2 separate regions of the Homo sapiens genome follow, and region 2 is linked to region 1. Evidence: promoter capture Hi-C in human tissues and cell types (Jung and others, 2019). All regions are on one chromosome and are shown on one strand. Each heading gives the region's core, a stretch centred on a gene start or on the middle of the fragment in contact. The rest is flanking DNA. Distances are from core to core; before and after follow the strand shown. Region 1 holds the start of PDRG1 (p53 and DNA damage regulated 1). Region 2 holds the start of HCK (HCK proto-oncogene, Src family tyrosine kinase).

The links. The method cuts DNA at HindIII sites, captures the fragments that hold promoters and counts their contacts. A contact is called where the count stands out against the background at its distance.
Region 2: a contact is called between the fragment with the promoter of HCK here and the fragment with the promoter of PDRG1 in region 1, in 1 of the 25 tissues and cell types used here (mesenchymal stem cells).

The regions. Positions count from the first base shown.
Region 1 is chr20:31,950,438-31,953,390 of GRCh38, forward strand. It overlaps PDRG1 (p53 and DNA damage regulated 1), which reads right to left and starts at 1,609. Exons shown (of 5, transcript NM_030815.3): 1 at 1,438-1,609. The coding sequence starts at 1,524. The HindIII fragment of the contact is 6,454 bases long and covers 1-2,953 here.
Region 2 is chr20:32,050,893-32,053,889 of GRCh38, forward strand. It overlaps HCK (HCK proto-oncogene, Src family tyrosine kinase), which reads left to right and starts at 1,350. Exons shown (of 13, transcript NM_002110.5): 1 at 1,350-1,594. The coding sequence starts at 1,533. RefSeq lists silencers at 1,710-1,769, 2,823-2,997. The HindIII fragment of the contact is 18,740 bases long and covers 1-2,997 here.

The DNA of each region.
Region 1 (2,953 bases), core at 359-2,858:
GTCACCTCTTGACAGACAAGGGTTGCAGAGGCAATGCATTATTCCTGATTACATTCAACGTCCTGCCTAAAATGGATTGATGTGTGAATGTATTTCTTCTCTCACTCAGCTTCCTGGTCTTAAAGACAATGCTTTGTGCAGCTGCCCTCTCCCCAGAAAAGATGCTGAGAAAACATGTGCTGACTAAATGGGAAATTCTGCATTATCCACTCGAACTTTAGGGCATATCAGAATCACCAGGGGAGTGGAAACCCTTCCCCTACACACTGTGATTAAGCAGGCCTAATGTTTATTTTTGGACAAACTTCTCCAGCTGATTCTGAACTAGTAATATGAGAAACCCAACAATACTAGATTGGAACAGCAGGATTGGGGGCACTGAGACAGTGGTAACAACACAATAGCTACTAAGGAAGTGACGCAGTAGTACAGTATACTGCACGAGTGCTGGTTCTGGATTTGGAATACCCAGGTTCGAATCCTGCTATCTGCCTCAAGCTGTGTAATTTCACCTTCCTATTTACTCCTCCTCAAAATGGAGCTACGGACAGTACCTACCTTACAGGTTATTGAGCCAGCAATTAAATGACTTAACACAGTACCTGGCACATAGTAAGTAGCTGATAAACTTTAACTGCTCTTATTCTCATCCAGCACACCCTGATCCAGTACTTAATTTGACAGGATCTTGCCCAAGTTTTCCCCTTCTCAGTAAATACCTGACCCTTCTAACTGGAGATGAGAGGGAGTCACGACTCCCCCGGCTCCACTACCACGGCCTACTGAGTCTGTCTCCAAAATACATTTCTGACCCCTTCACTTCTCTCCACCACCACTACCTAGTCCAAATCCATCTCTGGTCTGGACCATACCAATGGCCCCTCACCCATCTCCCTGCCTCCGCCCTTGCCCACCTATATTCTGTATTCCACACAGCAGCCAGGGGGGATCCTTTTAAAACCTAAATCCAATTACGTCACCCTCCTTCCCCCAGGAACTCCCCTCAAAAACTTGGCACTTAAAACAAGACACCCCATAAACAGGGCGCCACCTTCCCCCACGTCCCCACCCCTGCCCGGTCACAAGGCCCCCTCAGGCTTCTTTTCGGTTCCAGCTCTCCCCTGAGGGCCTTTACAGGGCGGTGCCCCTAGATCAACCATGGGGCCGGGAAGTGCATTTTGAAACAGGTGCTCAGGGAAACGGCCCAGAGCATGATGGGTCGAGATCCACAGAGCATGGCAAGGGGCAGAGAAAGGATGAAGAGAGAGGAATGTCCAGCATAGCGCAGGCGCTCACTTAGTAGCGGCCGAATATTTATCGGCCCAGGTCTGTCGCCTCGGAGCCGTTAACCGCCTGTCCAGGTCAACTCACTGCGACCCCGCGCGCTTTCCCACGGCGCCGGCCGCCAGGCCCCAGCGCCGCGGAGGGGCCTCTCACCTGCCGCTTGTCCGCCAGCACCTCCTCGGCGAGCTCCTCCACTTCTACAAGGTACCGCAGCACTCGCTCTGCCTCGGGTGATAGCATAGCGCCCACCAACTCCGCTTGCGGCTCTCGCGCGACCCCGGGATCTCCGCTTCGACTCCCGCTGCGCACGCGCCGCTCTCTAGGTGCTTCCGGCGCGCCTGCGCAGTTAAAAGAACGGTGGTGCGCAGGCTCTAACACTAGTGCGCCAGCCGGCTGCGAGAGGCGGGGCCTAGCTTTGGGGGCGGGGCTGGAGCGCCCTCTGCAGGCTCAGAGAGCTCAGTCCTCGGGCTGCCTCTGACCCGTTACTCCCTCGGTTCATGCTTCTTGAGCACTTATTATGTGCCAAGCAGTTTTATGTGCTTAGGATGCAGCAGTGAACACAACAAAATCCCTGCCCTCATGGAACTTCATCCTAGTGGGAAACACCGACAATTAATGGCAAAACAATTATATACCGTGGCAGGTAGTGATTAGGATCTGGGAAATATTATTCTTCCCCTGGCTAAGAAACACCAAGAAGGCCCATGTGGCAGTGTGACTTATGTTTAATCTCTGACACTTTCAGTTTCTAATTTATAAAAAGGGGGTGAATAAAAATCCGCCTCAGTGTCTCTCCACAGGATCGGAAGGAAGCAGGAATCAGCTGGGCGCAGTGGCTCATGCCTGTAATCCCAGTACTTTGGAAGGCCAAAGCGGGGGGATCACTTGAGCCCAGGAGTTCGAGACCAGCTTGGGCAACACAGTAAAACCTCCGTTTCTACTAAAAATACAAAAAAAAAAAATTAGCTGGGTGAGGGGGGGCGCGCCCGTTGGTCCCAGCTACTCAGGAGGCTGAGGCGGGAGGAGCACCTGCATCTGGGGAGTCGAGGCTGCCCTGAGCTATGATGGCACCACTGCACTCCAGCCCGGGTGACAAAACGAGACTCTGTCTCAAAAAACAAAGGAAGCAGTAATCACTTTTAATTCCGTTTAACCAGAGTTCACTTGAGCCCCTGTGTTGGGCCCAATGTCCAGAGTAGCTGGCCTATACATAAGGAAGGGACTTGAAAACTATGGGCAGTAAGCAATGAAGTGCTAGCTCAGAAAAGCAGGTGGGTGTGGGTGGTAGGATTGGGAGGACTTCCCAGAGAAGGCAGGCAGGTGGAAAATGGTTACCATCAGAACCAGAGGGTTCCCACGAGGTCTTCACGCCCAAACTCCTCATTGGATAGCTGGAAAAAACAAACCTCAGAGAGAGGCAAGGCTTTGAAAAGAAGGTGAGGGGTGAGCCATGTGGATGCCTAGGAGAAGAGTGTTCCAGGCAGAGGGAACAGCCAGCGTATGTGGAACAGAATGGGCGGGGGGGAAGCAGGCAGGAGGTCAGAGGGAAGGAGGCATTGAGCCCACATGGCTGTAAAAGGCGCTGGGAAAGGACTTTGAAAGTCTAAAGAGCAGAACCGATATTATCACTCTGATGTCTCGCCTCCCTGATTCCAGCGTTTTATTCTCT
Region 2 (2,997 bases), core at 100-2,599, 100 kb after region 1:
TGCTGTTAAACATCCTATCATTCACAGGACAGTCCCCCGCAACAAAGAATTACCTGGCCCAAATGTCAATAGTGCCAAATTTAAGAACCCCTGCATTCCCCAGCCCCCAGGACAGCTTTGCTGAATGAATTATGAATGAATGAATGAAGAAATGACTGTGGTCCTGATCAGCTGGTAGCAACGGGAATAGAGAGACGCGGTAGAATTCTTGTAGTTTTGGAGATTTTGGAGGTGTGTTACACAGCATTTAGGGTGATAGCCCCTGTCTTTTCCAGGAGAGGGTGTGTTCTGCCCTTGCCTGGAGCTGGGCACAATCCCATCCACTTGGGGCCTCAGTCACCCTCCAGCCCGACTCCTCCCCTCCCCCGACCACCTCCCCCAGCTTGGGAGTCCTCTGAGCTGCCAGGAAGCCAGGGTGGTTCCTTCGGGCAGGGAACTTTGCATGGCCATGGTGGTTCCTTCGAGAGAGGAACTTTGCATGGTGTCTGAATGGAGCAGGCCTGCGGAAGAGAAACCGCTGACCACAGACCTGCCTGGAAGTCTCGGGCCGCGGAGTTGGGGAGGGCCGGGCCAGAAGGGAGGGGTCGGAGTGGTGGGGAAAAGAGATCACGATGCTTCCGGGGTAGGGTAAGGCCTTTCCAGGGTGGGTTGGAATCTTTGAAGACTGTGGCAGGAATCCCTTGATAGGTGGGGTTAGGATCTCTGAAGGGCAGGGTTGGAATCTTTGGACCGGCGGTATAGACCCCTGGGTATTAAAACTCTTAGGCGGCGGGAGGTTAGATCGCGCAGGAGCAGGAGCGGTATTGGAACCCTGGGGTTTGTGTTCTAAATCTTAGGGCAGGGTTAGAATCCACTGAAGTGAGAGTTCGGATCCTTCCACTGGGCAGATTAGAATCTTTGGGGGCAAGTTGAGTTTAAAAATCCTTCAGAGGTGGGATTAAAAATCCTTTGGCGGGGCGGGGTTAGTATCTTGGGAGCCTTGGAGCGGGTGCTGGGGTTCTTAGACGGGCGGGTTCGAATCCCTAGGAGTGGGATTTGGGATCCTTTGGAGACTGGGGTAGGACGCTGGGCGGTGGGATGGGGAGGTGTTAGGGAAAGTGGAGCGGAAGGGATGGGGGTTCGCATCCTTGGTGGACGCGTTAGAAGCCTCCTATGGATGGTGCTAATATTTTTTTTCTCTTCGTGGAGGGTTTGGGATCCTTCTTGCAGGAGACGGAGGTTATGACCCTCGGGGAGCCGGTTAGGATCCTGGGGTGGCGTCTGAATCTTCGGGGAGGTGTTAGGACACTTGGGGCGGAGTTAGCCTCGCTCAGGGCGCGGCTAAGGCGCCCAGATGGCCTGCGGGCGCCACCACGTCCCTGGTCCCAGCTCGGGAGCACATCAGAGGCTTAGAGGCGAGTGGGAAGGGACTCAGACAGTGCAGGACGAGAAACGCCCGCGGCACCAAAGCCCCTCAGAGCGTCGCCCCCGCCTCTAGTTCTAGAAAGTCAGTTTCCCGGCACTGGCACCCCGGAACCTCAGGGGCTGCCGAGCTGGGGGGGCGCTCAAGCTGCGAGGATCCGGGCTGCCCGCGAGACGAGGAGCGGGCGCCCAGGTGAGTGCCGCGCACAGGGGACCGGGAATACCCGGCCCGCGAGGGGTCCCAGGAGGCGGAGGGAGCCCAGGAGCCTGGGGAGGGCTGGCTACGGGTGCGGCTGGGGGCAGCGAGGGGAGACGGAACGTCGGGGGAGCCGCGGGTAGCCCGGGGGATGAGGGGTCGACAGCGAGTGGAGGGTGCCCTAGGGAGGGGCGGCACTGTTGCGGACTGCTGGATTCCCGGGGAAGGGGACGCTCGGGCCCGTGCAGTGACTTTATCCACCACTTCTCTGGGCCGTCCAGGTTCCCCTTCTTGGGGGGGGGCGGGGATTTTTTTTTTAATTTAAAAAAGAAAAAGAAGGAAGGGATGGGGCTTCACAGAACCCGGGAAGGGGAAGGCCCTTACGGTTCCCGGTGGGGGCCGGGTCACGCCGGGTTGGCAGCCAGCTTGGGGAAGGGGGTAGTTGGGCGGAGGCGTGACGTGCGAGCCACACCCAGGCCGGCTGCAGCTGGTCGGCTCTCTGCCCCTCCTCCCACAACAGGTCTAGGTCAAACCCCCAAACCTCCTGGCCCCAGACCACACTGCATGCATGCCCTGTCTCTTTCCTCCTTGGACGAATTCTCCGCCTCCGAATTCGTTTCCTCATCTGTAAAACGGGGCTATGAAGTCTTTCTTGCAAGGATGCAGGAAATTGGAGTATGCGAGAGGTGGTGCGTGTGAGAGACAGGCTAGTGGGTAGCGGAGGGGGCTTCTAGGGGCAAACTGCCTGTTGGGGCTGGGGTAGAGGATTTGGCCTTTCTTTGCCTCTGTTTTCACAACTGCAGGATGGGGAGAGTAATAGTACCTCCTTCACAGGGTTGTTTAGAGGATTAATTGGGTACTGAAGGGGCCGGGCAGGGTGGCACACGCCTGTAATCTCAGCTTTTTGGGAGGCCGAGGCAGGTGGATCTCTTGAGGTCTAGAGTTTGAGACCAGCCTGGCCAACATGGTGAAACCCCGTCTCTACTAAAAGTACAAAAATTAGCCGGGCGTAGTAGCACACACCTTTAATCCCAGCTACTCGGGAGGCTGAGGCACGAGAATCACTTGAACCTGGGAGGTGGAGGTTGCGGTGAGCCGAGATCGCGCCACTGCACTCCAGCCTGGGCGACAGAGAGAGACTCTGTCTCAAAAAAAAAAAAAAAAAAAAAAAAGTTACTGAAGGAAAGCTTTGAGAATGCTGTCTGACAGTACACAGGCTTAATGTATGTTAACATTGCCCTAGCTAGACATATGGCCCCGTGTTCTCAGACTTTAGCCTACATCAGCATCACCTGGACTGCTTGTGAAAACAGATTGCTGGGCCGAATCCTAGAGTTTCTGATTCAGTAGCTCTGTGCAGGACAATGAGAACTTCCATCCCCGGTGATGCTGCTGCTGCT